Linked DNA regions of Homo sapiens: all the other regions are linked to region 2. Evidence: promoter capture Hi-C in 16 types of primary human blood cells and fetal thymus (Javierre and others, 2016). All regions are on one chromosome and are shown on one strand. The core of a region is centred on a gene start or on the middle of the fragment in contact, and the rest is flanking DNA. Distances in the headings are between cores, read along the strand shown. Region 1 holds the start of FAM114A2 (family with sequence similarity 114 member A2). Region 2 holds the start of CEP120 (centrosomal protein 120). Region 3 holds the start of NUDCD2 (NudC domain containing 2).

Region 1 (4,332 bases), core at 1,348-3,847, about 31 Mb after region 2:
CAGTGTTACTCAATTCAATTCCTTCCAGATGTAGAGCTCTTTGGCAATTAAAGCCAAGATACTATTGGTGTCTCTACAAAGAACAGACACTAGTTTCCAGGATAACCAAGGATTATCAGAGTAGAAATCAATACATCTCACACATATGTACACACACGCTGTAGGTATGTACTGATATGTACTAAGTGCAGAATTAGACCCAACCCATGCTATCAAAATGTTTCTAATGTATTAGAAAAGAAAGGCATATTAAAACTAAGGCAGACTGGATGCAGCACTATAACAGGTGCTGCATTCAGTCCAACACACAAAATGCTGAAACATCCCTGCCAGACCATCCAACACACAAAATGCTGAAAAAAAACAGAACTCCATTAGAATCAGACAACGTAATTCATGAACAAAGTACCTGAAATAAGCCTAGAGTAGTGGTCACAAACTGGGAATTTAAGTGCCAAATCCAGCCTACAGATGTTTTTATTTGGCCTGCACAGTATTTAACCTTTGCAAAAACTAGATGCCAACATTTAAAAATCAGACTTCATATAAAAATATAGGCTTCCAACTTCTAACTTGTAAAATTAAAAGATCTAGCAACACCGGGCCCACATTCAACTCTGTAATAACTAGCTTGTGCTAAATAGCCGCTGGGCCCTTTTAGCTAGGGCAGTTGCTCTCCAGCTCCCTACAATCCCCCACGCAAATCCACTTCACTCAAATTATGCTACCTGATTAACCTCTGTAGGCATCTGAGTTGGCAACACCTGCCTTAAAAGAAGCTTATGATTTTGACAGATGATGATGCCAATGACAGGATTCAAGGATATGGAAATAACATGAGGGTACAGCCAAAGGCCTGAGGTCTGACAGTATGGAACATGGACAGTTACAGTAGGGAGTAGTTACCATGGCAGAGAGAAGAACAATGGGAAGGCATGAAGCTAGAAAGGTAGATTAAGACAACACTATGGAGTTCAGAATATATGGGCATATAATATAAACACATTACACATTTCCAAAACACATAGAGAAAAAATCCAGATACAACTACTCACTGACATACAAACCAACTTAGAAGTAGCCATTCATTCACTCGCAAACATTTTTTGAGTACCTACTACGTACCAAGTAGTACCACAGTACCTGTGGAGATAGAGAACTAATGTAAGCCATTCACTCCAAGGGCCTATCTAATAGGAAAGACGAGACAGTTTTTGCACAAAGTTCAATTAATGTTTTGTGTATATGAATAAATGTTTCCTATCTTTTCCTTATGCTCTCTCCAGGTTGCAACGCATCATTATCATCATCATAAATATATACAGTATACTATATGTAGAATATATAATATACATATTACATAAATTCATATAATTCCATGAAAGACTGGAAGGACATACTCCAAAATATATTTTTAAAGACAGGGTCTCGCTATGTTGGCCAGGTTGGTCTTGAACCCTAGGCCTGGCCTCAAGCAATCTTCCCCTGCCTCAGCCTCCCAAAGTGCTAAAATTACAGGCGTGAGCCACCATGCCCTGCCAAAACAGTCCCTTTACTAAAATATTAAACACTGGTTATCTCTATTCTTTCATTTGTGCCAGATATTTGAGCTAAGCCAGAAGAGAATTTTTTATGGTGATGGTTGTTTATATTATCATTACTATCGTTATTAGAATGACTGTACCATCTCTTTCCTCAACTCATTCATAATCTAGGAGAAAGGTTAAAAAAAAAAAAGGAATAAACACCAAGTACGTGGAACTGCACTATTTAGTGTTTTTGTAAGTCTTCCAGGCATTGTGTAGTAAGCGTGTAGAAATAATTGTAGTTTCTCCTCCAGTTATTTTCTCAGTTGGAGGAGAAAGATTCCAATAACTGTAAATAAATACGGCTGAGCCATATTTTTAAGAAATAAAAACGCATACGCTTACACACACACATATATATTACGTATATATACACTCCACCCGCCCCATTTACCAAAATGAAGAGCAGTACAGCTTAGTAGCTAAGAGCACGGGCTCTGGAGTTTACTTTCTTCCTGTCCTGCAGCGATTGTGGGGAAGTCAGGTCACCTGTCTGCCTCTCCGTTTCCTCATCTGTCAAATGGAGTTCTGGGTCCCTATAAAGATTCAGTGACGCGATATGTGAGGGGCTTGGAACAGTGACCGGCACGTAACCGCCCACAGGTTAACAGCTGCTATCACTTGGTGGGGTGATGGTTTGTATCCTATCGTTATTAATACGGCTGTCTCTAGATGAGCAAACATGCGCTCTCACTTCTTCCCACATTCAAGAATGGGGTCCCAAACGAGAGATTCGACGTAAACGTCCGCTCCCAACTAAGTTCTCAGGCGCTGACAACGACAAGAATTCCTCACACAAACGTAGCGCTTCAATCACTAAACCGCTTTCACAGCCCTCGACCCTGCCGCGAGATGTCCGCCGCCCACCGTCAGGTCACCGCCTCCCTAACGACTTCGGCTGCCCGGGCCCTGCCCCTGAACCTCGCACCCCTCCTGCCTCGTTCAGGAAGCTCCGCACCTATCCGGCCGCCACCCTCAGCACAGCCACGGCAGCCGACTCGGCGTTCCTACTGCCCCGGAAGTGCTCCTTCAGCGCAGAGGCGTGCCGGTGTGTCCGAGAAAACTTCCGAGTTAAGCCGCCGCTGAGGCCGGAAGGAGCTAGACGGCGGTCGGGTAGGTGACGGCTTGGTTGGGGTCGCTGCGAGGGGACTACTAGGAGCGCCGAGGCGTGAGTCGTAGCCTGTGGCTTGGGGTCGGGAGTGCAGGAGGCGAAAATGTTTGCCATTCTTTTGAAAGTCTGGCCTGGGTGTGGGAGTTCGGTCATCGAACACTTACTGAGAGCCAGATACCTGCCAGGCACTGCCCTGGGCTCCAGGGACACATCAGTCAACGAACGGAAGGGCCCTGCTCTCAAGCAGTGCGAAAAGCAGATTATAAACAAGTCAACAAACGGGATTATCTAAGGTGGTAGTAAGTGCTGTAAAGAAATTTAGACTGGATAATGTGATGGAACGAAGTGGGAGAGTAATAAGCCGTATGAAAATCTGGAATAGAGCATTCCAGGCAGAGAGAATAGCGCGTGCAAAGGCCATATAGTGGGAACAAACTTAGCAAAGTCAAGGAAAAGACAAAGGCCACTGGCTAGAGCAAAAGGAGCAAGGTGAGAATGGAGAGAGATGAGGCCAGGGACTTGAGCCCAAATCTTGTAAGGCTTATGAGCAAGGATAAAGAGTTTGATTTTTGTTTGGAATCCAGTGGAAAACCATTGAAGGTTTCTAAGCAGATGAATGACATGATCTGATTTATGACTCTAAGATTACTCCTGGGACCTCATCAGAAAGATGCAACTCTTCTGTTGCCCTCGAGCAGTGAAAATGCATGAAATCCAGACTGACAGAGCTAGTAAAATATTAAAATCAATCTTATTGTACAGATAAGAAAAACTGAATCCCAGAGAGGTGAAGGGACTTAGCCTTTAAGAACTCATGTTTTCCAACTCCATTTAATGCCCTCGGAATTATCATCTTAATTCCCAGATAAGAGTAATTGTCACTTCTAAAACTCTTCAGATATTTTCCTTTGCTTTTGACAGTGGTTCTCTAAATTTAGGTTCATCAATATCACCTGGAAGCTTGTTAAAATTCCAAAAAACAACAACAAAAAAACCCCTGCTTAAATATAAAATGGATCATTTCCTCTGATTTTCTGTTGTAATGGAAAATGCATAGAATTTGGGGCTAAAGTATGGAATCTTGGGAAGCCACTTATTTTTTAAATGCTGCTGATAATTATAGCAGCAGTTCTCAAACTTTTTGATCTTAGAATTTCTTTATACTTTTAAAATGTATTGAGAACTTCAAAGGGTTTTTGTTTATAATAGCTATCAATATTTACTATTTTAGAAAACAACTTTCAACAAAGGTTATTCATTTTAAAATAAACTCATTATATGTTAACATAGATAGCATTTCTGTAAAGGATATTTTCCAAAATGAAAAATTATTGAGAATGGCATTGTTTTACATTGTTACAAATCTCTTTAATGTCTGGCTGAATAAAAGACAGCTAGATTTTCGTAACTTCTACCTTCATTCTCTTACAATATCAATCATCATGTAACTTTTAGAAAATTGTGCCATATTGTGTGAGAATGTGAGTGAAAAAGGGATATGTCCTAATATTATGTAAATTGTTTTGAAACAGTGTCAGGGACACCCAGGAGTTCCTGCACCACACTTTTGAGAATTACACTGAATTACGGTGATTGTCATGCCAGTAAAAGAAATATGAGTTTGATTTGTAAATC
Region 2 (4,442 bases), core at 103-2,602:
TCTCCTATGCCCTCCACTTTCTTGCAAATCTGTTCTCCAACCACACTGAATTTAACCAATGTTTACTGAGTGAATTTAATTAAGCAAGGCAAAACGTGTCTTGCTTTTCCATACTTTAAGTGCTCCCTGCTCTTCTCTTTGCCTGGAATGCCCTTCCTTTTTTCACCTGACAAATTCCTAATCATCTGTAGGACCCCAAAAAATGCCACCTCCTCTAGTGAAACTTCCGCAGTTTCCTTAGACAGAGGTGGTCATTCATTAGGGTCTTCCACATCCTGATGAATTATTTGCTGACACACTCTCCTTGCTACATCCTTAGCTTTTTAGAATCAGGACTGTTTCATTCTTACATTCCCAGCACAGTGTCTGACACTCAATGAGTCCCAATAAACCAATGTCATTCATCCAAAACACACCTTTTAAGGAATGTATAATACACCCTCTTAAGAACTGTAGTCCCCTGAGTCCTCCAGCAAGACGTGTAAAGGGAATTGCCTCCGGAACACTTCTGGAATCGCAGGAAGCCTGTATTCAAGTCAAAGCTCTTACAAGTGCTATTATTGGGAACCGCTGATCAGAACGCGCTTCTCAGGACCACGTTCAGCTCATATATAAAAGCCATCGACGTGCTGCTTTGGATGAAAATCGTTTTCTCTAGATTCTCTGGGGCTACGGCTAGTCACGCTAAATATCACTTATCCCTAATAGCGCTCATATCCCTGGAGAGATTTTTAAATCAATTGCCTAACAGACCTCACTACGTACAACTTTGAACAAGTCTGTGGGGACCACAAAAGCACAGATGACAGGGTTCTTAAGGTTAACAAGGCCTCGGTCCCACACTAAGCTTTTAAAACTCGGGAGGCAGCAGTTGCAAAAGCAAGCCTCAGGCTGCTCACCTTCTAGGATGGACACGACGATGAGCAATTGGTCGGATTTGGAGACCATGGTTGCGGTGAGCGGTCCGGGGGCGAAGGCGGCTGGGGGGAAGTGAGGTCCAGTTGAGTCGCGGGTAATCCGGGACCCCCGGCGGGACCCCCACTGCCCGCCCCCGGTCCCTGATGCCCGGACCCCGCTCCGCAGCCAGGTCCCACCGCCGTCTGCTGCAGCGCGCCCGGCTCCTCTGCCTCGGGCCGCCAGCCCAGATCCTAACTGTGCCCCGACTCAAGGAAAAAGCCACGCTGCAGCCCTGCCAGTCTGCAAGCAGAGACAAGCCCGCCACCCGAGGACCTTTTGCCGCCTGCGTAGCCGCTTTTCAAACGCCCGGGCGGCCGCAGCGGCCGCCGCCGCGCCCAGCTTCCGCCTAGCAACCAGGCCCGCAGGCCCAGTGCCCAGGGGAGGTTGGAGGACAACGGGTGATAGAGACAGAGCAGTCAAGGCTAGAACGCCCGTCAGCGAGCTTCGCCTCCCGCCCTTTTACGCTCTGTTCCAGAGCCCTAAGGAGGACGCCTTCATTACCTCACAGCGCCCTCTGCTAGCCGGACGAGGAGAGGCGGGCGACTTGGTGTGGGACCAGCTGCGCAAGCGCACTACTGCTGTAAACGCTTCCTGAAGCTGCGTAGCCTTTAAGGAGCGTGAGTGTAGCGTATTACCTGCTTTATGCTTCAGCCACAACCTGAGAGTTATATTAGTGGGGATTAAAAAAACAAAAAAACCTAGCTTAGTTGACGTACCCAGTGTCAACACTGCTTAAAAAATTAAATCACAAAAAAATAATGACTTAAATCTAAACTCTAAAGTCCCTAAATCGTGCTCACGCGGCACCTCAAATTTCCGACCTTTGAAAACAAGTAGCTTCAATACGGTAATTACTGTACTTGTTAAAGCTGACGTAAACTCCCCGAGAATTTCCTGTCCCTTAGAAATTACCCCTAAAACAAAAACACTGTCACGTGGGCAATGAAATATAAAGGTTCTTCCACCCCCGATGACAAAGTTATTAGCAAACTCAAAACCAAAAATAAACAAGGCATTGAGGTGCTGTCTGCCGACCCTTTCCCCTTAACGTCTCCCAAATTCAGATTTAAGAAACGGTTCAAGACTTGTAAAGGGAACGGCCTCCTAAACACTACTCAAATTGCAAGAAGCATGTATTCAAGTCAAAGGCAAAGTTCTTTTGGAGGTTATCTAGCTTGAAACTTAAATAACCGAATTGGTTGGAGCGATCGTGGACACTATTAAGTTTGGGAAAAATTCTGCTTCGGAAAACAAAAGTAAATCATAATAAAATAAAGCTGCAGAGATAGCACTAGGTAGTGGACATAAGTGCGGCTTCTCCTATTACTTTCTGGTTTTGTAAATTGAGAAGTTGTTTTGAGAGCAAATATAATATCTCGCTGTTTTCTTTTTCTTCTATTGCTTCCTTGTTTTGGAAATTTAGAAGTTATTTTGAGAGCAAATAATATAATATCACTATTGTTTTCTTCTTCCTCTTCTTTATTCTTCCTTCTTTGCTTTCTGCCCAAAAGAAAAGGAGGAATATGTAGAGATTGGACTAATTACTTCTAAGGCCCTTTCAGGTCCTATCACAGGCATTCTTAAAATGAAGCACTATTCAATGTAAAATCAAAGTAATGATCTACTTTGGATTCATCATTGAACAATGCATTATTTTTGTGGAAGATGTCAAACATACTTTAAAGAAAGCAGAATGATATAATGAACCCCCAGTTACCCAGACCCCAGCTTCAACGATTATCAACTTAAGACCAATCATCTTCATCTGTTGTGTTATTTTTAAAGAAATCCCCAACATCACATCAATTCATCTTTTTGGATACGTACTTCTAAAAGATGAAGACTTTTTGGCCAGGTGTGGTAGTGGCTCACATCTGTAATCCCAGCACTTTGGGAGGCTGAGGTGGGCGGATCACTTGAGTCAGGAGTTCGAGACCAACCTGGCCAACATAGCAGAACTCCGTCTCTACTAAAAATACAAAAATTAGCCAGACGTGGTAGCGCAAGCCAGAAATCCCAGCTACTTGGGAGGCTGAAGCACGAGAAGGCTGAGGCACGAGAATCGCTTGAAATCATGAGGCAGAGGTTGCAGTGAGCCGGTATCATGCCACAGCGCTCCAGCCTGGGCCACAGAGAAAGACTCAGTCTCAAAAAAAAAAAAAAAAAAAAAGATAACGACTTCTTAAAGAATCTTAAAATATTAAGTATTTAACCACAATCCCATTATTACACTTAATAATTAACAAAAATTTCTTAATCCCATTAAATATATACTGTTCAAATTTCTCTGATTGTCTAATAATTTGTTTGCAGTCGGTTTTTTCAAATCAGGATCCAAACAAGTTCCAAAATACAATGGTTGGTATGTCTCTTGTCTTTTTTAATGTATATGGTTAGGCTTTGTGCCCCCACCAAAATCTCATTTTGAATTGTAATCCCCACAACCCCCAAGTGTCAAGGAAGGGACCAGATGGAGGTAATTGAATCATGGGGGTGGTTTCCTCCATGCTATTCTCCTGATAGTCAGTGAGTTCTCAGGAGATCTGACGGTTTTATTAAGCGCTCTTCCCCCTTTACTCACTCACTCTTCTCCTTCTTGCTGCCTTGTGAGGAAGGTGCCTTGCTTCCCCTTTGCCTTCTGCCATGACCATAAGTTTCCTGAGGCCTCCCTAGCCATGCTGAACTATGAGTCAATTAAACCTCTTTCCTTTTGAAATTACCCAGTCTTGGGCAGTTCTTTATAGTAGTATGAAAACGGACTAATGGAGGTACCCAATCCTTCTTTTTTTTTTCTTGAAATTCTTTATTGAAGAAACTGGTCGTGTCTGCAGAGTTTACCACAGTCTGAATTTTGTTGGTATAATACCAATGTTGTGGTTTAACATATCCTCTGTTGAGAAGTCTAATAAATATGTACACATTAACAACACTTAAAGATTAGGAAACAAATTAACCACAAGCGAAGTATAATGTTATCAGTGGTGCAAGACAGTACTTAGCATTATAGACAAAGAGAGGCCCAAGTACCTCTGATGGAATGAGTACCCCAGAAGATCAGAGTTTGGGACCTACCTTTGCTATTTGCATGTCAGGTGACCTTAAGCAAATCACTTTCCCTCTTTGAGCCTCAGTTTCAGCTATAAAACGATAGTATGCATGGTTCTTTAGTGCAGGACTTAAATGTAGTAAATGCCACTTAGTTACTATTTTTTATATGAACAATCTCAGACTTTAAGTAGTAGCTGTGAAAAGAGCCAGGAACTGTCCATCAGCATACCTTGTTGTTTTGCTTTAGGATATCTAGCAGGGCTTCACACCTAGATTATAAACCATTACTGTATGCCATAGAATAGTTTTAGGTCATAAAAAATCTGACAGATTATTAAAATTAACAAAGAAACTTTTTCATGTAGTAAATTTCACATGATTCCCTTTATTTGGATTTTCCTCCTGAACAACATCATTTCTAAAATCACTTTCAGCAC
Region 3 (4,348 bases), core at 1,500-3,999, about 40 Mb after region 2:
AGAAGTTCTTCATTAAATTTTATATTTCCAAAAACAACTAACTAATTTTTTCTCCCCCCACTAGGTAACTTTGACATACAACGGTTTTCAACACATTTCTATTGCTTTATCTTTCAAAGCTGCAAAGACAAAAAAGACCTAATACAAAAGAGGAAAAGATATCAAGACAAAATTATTTTAATTTGATGAATTATAGTAATTACCCTTACCCAAAGTCCATGTTCCCTCATCAGCTATTGTAGAATCAAAGAGTTTGCCCTGAAAAATAAACATATAAGGTGCTAAAAATACAGAATTTAATTTTTATAAAGTTTTCATGATTAAGATTTACCTACTTTCCTACCTAATCCACATCTTATACCACCACTTCACCATGACATTTATAGGTGCACAACCCTAAATTTTCTCCCAGCAGGTAAAATGGAAACTAGTTTACACTGCAAGGGATATTTACTATGGCAAAGAACACAGAGCTCTCTAAAGAAAGATCAGGGCTCCTTAATTTTTAGAAGATACAGTAATACTGACCACTGGCCAAATGTGAAATTAATATCTGAAATGCTTTAATTCTACCAATTTAAATTAACCACAAGAAGGGATCTCCTGCTAAAACTAAAAAATGTTGTCTTTTTTTTTTTTTTTTTTTTTTTTTTTGAGACAGAGTTTCGCTCTGTCGCCCAGGCTGCAGTGGCACGATCTGGCTCACTGCAACCTCCACCTCCAGGGTTCAAGCGATTCTCCTGCCTCAACCTCCCAAGTAGCTAGGACTACAGGCGCCCGCCACCACGCCCGGCTAATTTTTGTATTTTTAGTAGAGATGGGGTTTCCCCGTGTTAGCCAGGCTGGTCTCGAACTCCTGACCTTGTGATCCGCCCGCCTAGGCCTTCCAAAGTGCCAGGATTACAGGCATGAGCTACCGCACCCGGCAAAATGTTGTTTTTAAAGTAAACTTTTAAAAACGTTTTAATCTTTTTGTTGGGCAATCGGCATTAAAAAAACTTTACGTATTCCAGATTTGATAGATTAGTTGTGACTAACTGTTCACAAACTCATGTTTTTTAAAAAAATAAACAAAATATAAATTTAAAAGAGACTGCACCAGGCCCAGTAGCTCAGGCCTGTAATCCCAGGACTTTGGAGGCCAACGTGGATTGCTTGACCCCATGGGTTTGAGGCTGCTGTGAGCTACAATCTCACCCCTGCACCCCAGCATGGGAGACAGGGACCCTGTCTCAATAAATATATATTTTTTTTTAAAGAGAGAATGCCTAAACTCAAATCCATTTTAATTTGTTGCCAAATTTAAGTTATAGAAAGTGAAATTAAATGTCACTAGGAAAAGCCCACATTTTAAAATATGTCAAAATTAGTGAGAAAAAAATCCCACTGGTCTATACGTACATCAGAAATCCCAAATTCAGCAGCTACTGCTAAATTCCGAAAGTTACTGGATTTACTAATTTATAATCGTAATCTAAAACCATTGTTGAGGAAACTATGAATTGTACAATTCAGAAAAGTAACTGAGATCCAAGCTGACATAATGTCTTTCACACGAATCTTGAGGCACTCAAAGCACCTCCATATACTGTAATATATATAATAGCTAATAGCTAACATATAGTATGAACTTATTACATACCAGTGAATACTCCAAGCTCTTCATACACGTGAATACCATGTTAAGCTCAAAACAATCCCATGAGAAGGGTACTATAACTACCTTATCTTGTGGATAAGGAAGATATAGAGACACTGAACAATCTCTCGCCCAAGTTTACAAAACTAGGAAACAAGTAGTCTCCCTTCACCATATTACACTGCCATCAAACATCTTGGGCATCTAACCTGAGAACTAAATCTAATTTCAACCTGTTAGTTTAATTATACACTTAACAAAGAAAAAGCGGGTCCAGATCCAAAGAGCATTGGTGAAAAGAAATAAAAGGAGTACTACTTATTTTATGCACACACCTCTTCACCACCTGCTTGACCACTCCACAAACATGCAGGATTTTCAAGCTTTTAGATGAGAAAACTAATCACCTGACATCATCTCTAAATTCTCTGCCCGTTATTCTATCCCTATTTTCTTTGTTGTCCTTTCCTATATTTATCTATTTATGAATTACGCTTCCGTACAGGAGCTTAACCTCTCCACTGCAGGTACGTTATCTGTTGTCTTCCTGCCTGTCTTCAGTGCACGGAAGAAATATTTGTTCCTTTAGCAACCTAGTTAATCTGTTCCCAGCTGAAGCCCGTCAGAGAAGCAGAAGCAGCAGTCTTAGTTTGAAAACTAAACACGAAAATAGGCTCCTCAAATTTCCACAACTCAGCACCTGCCCTGAAGAGGCGGGGGCTCTGACCAGACCCAAACCTGGTCAGTGTTATCCTCTTTCTCTTTCTGCCAGCCACAGGAGCCGTCGGGACACCCAACAGTCGTTCAGGGAAACGGGGCTGGGGGCGTCTGGGAAGAGGAAACTGAACACAAGCCCCGAGCTGCCGCTACCTTGAGGATCTCGCGGCCGCCCACCGACAGCGCCACATGCCGGCTCTGGAGGCCGCACTGGATATCCTGGGCGCGCGTGCCTGGCGGCACCTGAACTTCAATGAACACCTCCTCCAAGGTCTGGTACCACTGGCCCCACGGGGTCCCGCACGGTACCACCCCACTCCGCTCCTCAAACGGGGCCGACATAATCCAGTCCCTCCCGGCCGCGGCCGCACCAGGCGGAGCCGAGCGCACGCGCGGAATCCCACGCTTAGGCTACGCCTCGGCCTCTCCGCTCGGGTCACTGCGCATGCGCAGGAACGCAAGCTAGCGCTTTGGTGTGCGTGTTCGTTTTTCCCTTTGAATGGCCGTTTACGGCACCGGCAGGCCCCGGATGAAAGAACTGAAATCCAGAAAAGTTCACATGCAACGAACAATGGGACAGAATTGGAACCAGTGAAGCCGGAACTCACTACACCGTCCCCTAAGTGACGCCAAAATGCACTTTCTAACGTCTCCGGAGGGAAGTGCGCTTGCGCAAATGCTAGGTTACACTTGAGTAACTCCGGGAATGACTGGGTGGGTGGGGCGGGGAACAGTAACGGTCTCCTATTGGATGGCAGCCTAAACTCGCAGGCCAGCTAATTGGACGCAATCAGAACCCAGCATTCTTTCTTCGTGTTCCTGTGCGGGATTGGTGTGCCCAGGGGTTTGGCTTTCCAATTGGCTAACGCCGGGGTGGGTGGGGAATGTGGGGAGATTTGAATTTGAAACCGGTAGGGAGTGATAATCCGCATTCAGTTGTCGAGGAGTGCCAGTCACCTTCAGTTTCTGGAGCTGGCCGTCAACATGTCCTTTCCTAAGGCGCCCTTGAAACGATTCAATGACCCTTCTGGTGCGTAAGGGGGAAAGAGCTGGGGGACGGGAGACGCCCTAACGCCCTTTGCCTCTTTCAGCTCCCTTCTTGGGAGGCAAGCAGGAGGCGATTTTAGGGTCGGGCTGGGGCTCATTCAGTTGATTGATTTTTCTCAAATATGCTCTAAGCATCTGTTACATGCCAAGCACTAATCAGGATGCTAAGGATACCGCAGTGAAACAGTCTCCGCCCCGTGGGGCTTACATTCAGGCGGGGAATACTGTCAATAAACAGCGGTAATGGAGAAACTACAGCAGGGCGAAGGGAATGGACCCGAGACGTTGGTAGCTACTTGATTTTCAAGTCCGAGAGGGCCTCACTGATAAGAACACTGGAGTATTACTTGTAGTCTGAACTTGTGCATTTCTTTTGTGTATTCCATTTGGGCATAAAAGAAGGAAGATTAGTAAAGGCAGTTTATGGGTGTAAAATTAGAGCAGCAGCACTTATTGAAAACATAAACAATGAAGTTATGGCTGATATTGACCACTTATACCTCAAGCACCGTACTAAGGCTTTACATCGATTATTAGTTATGTTAATTTCCCACCAACTCTAAGGGGTAATCCTATTATTATTTTATTGATAAAAAGACTGAGACTTAAATTTGCTCAGTGCTACATTACCAAAGTGACCGGACTGGAATATGAACCCAGCCCCCATCGTGTGCTCTTAACACCGCAATGCACAGCACAGTAACCAGGAAGCCTTAGCTGTGTTTGGTAGGCACTCATCATTTAAGATGCTGTATGCGGCCGGGCGCGGCGGCTCACGCCTGTAATCCCAGCACTTTGGGAGGCCGAGGCAGGTGGATCACGAGGTCAGGAGATCGAGACCACCGTGAAACCCCGTCTGTACTAAAAATACAAAAAAAATTAGCCAGGCGCGGTGGCGGGCGCCTGTAGTCCCAGCTGACTACAGGCTGAGGCAGGAGAATGGCG

The links. The method cuts DNA at HindIII sites, captures the fragments that hold promoters and counts their contacts. A CHiCAGO score of 5 or more calls a contact.
Region 1: the fragment with the promoter of FAM114A2 here is called in contact with the fragment with the promoter of CEP120 in region 2 in 1 of 17 cell types (total CD4 T cells); the score reaches 9.8 in total CD4 T cells.
Region 3: a contact is called between the fragment with the promoter of NUDCD2 here and the fragment with the promoter of CEP120 in region 2, in 1 of 17 cell types (fetal thymus). The highest score is 5.5, in fetal thymus.

What each region holds. Positions count from the first base shown.
Region 1 is chr5:154,036,313-154,040,644 of GRCh38, forward strand. FAM114A2 (family with sequence similarity 114 member A2) reads right to left here and starts at 2,598. Exons shown (of 14, transcript NM_018691.4): 1 at 2,545-2,598. MFAP3 (microfibril associated protein 3) reads left to right here and starts at 2,655. Exons shown (of 3, transcript NM_005927.5): 1 at 2,655-2,699. The HindIII fragment of the contact is 2,878 bases long and covers 778-3,655 here.
Region 2 is chr5:123,422,051-123,426,492 of GRCh38, forward strand. CEP120 (centrosomal protein 120) reads right to left here and starts at 1,353. Exons shown (of 20, transcript NM_001375405.1): 1 at 900-1,353. The coding sequence starts at 948. RefSeq lists an enhancer at 619-1,564 and a silencer at 894-1,053. The HindIII fragment of the contact is 3,797 bases long and covers 846-4,442 here.
Region 3 is chr5:163,457,353-163,461,700 of GRCh38, forward strand. NUDCD2 (NudC domain containing 2) reads right to left here and starts at 2,750. Exons shown (of 4, transcript NM_145266.6): 1 at 2,510-2,750; 2 at 210-258. The coding sequence starts at 2,698. HMMR (hyaluronan mediated motility receptor) reads left to right here and starts at 3,280. Exons shown (of 18, transcript NM_001142556.2): 1 at 3,280-3,386. The coding sequence starts at 3,341. It also overlaps a transcript of CCNG1 not described here. RefSeq lists enhancers at 2,467-2,716, 3,467-3,526 and a silencer at 3,047-3,136. The HindIII fragment of the contact is 3,644 bases long and covers 2,021-4,348 here.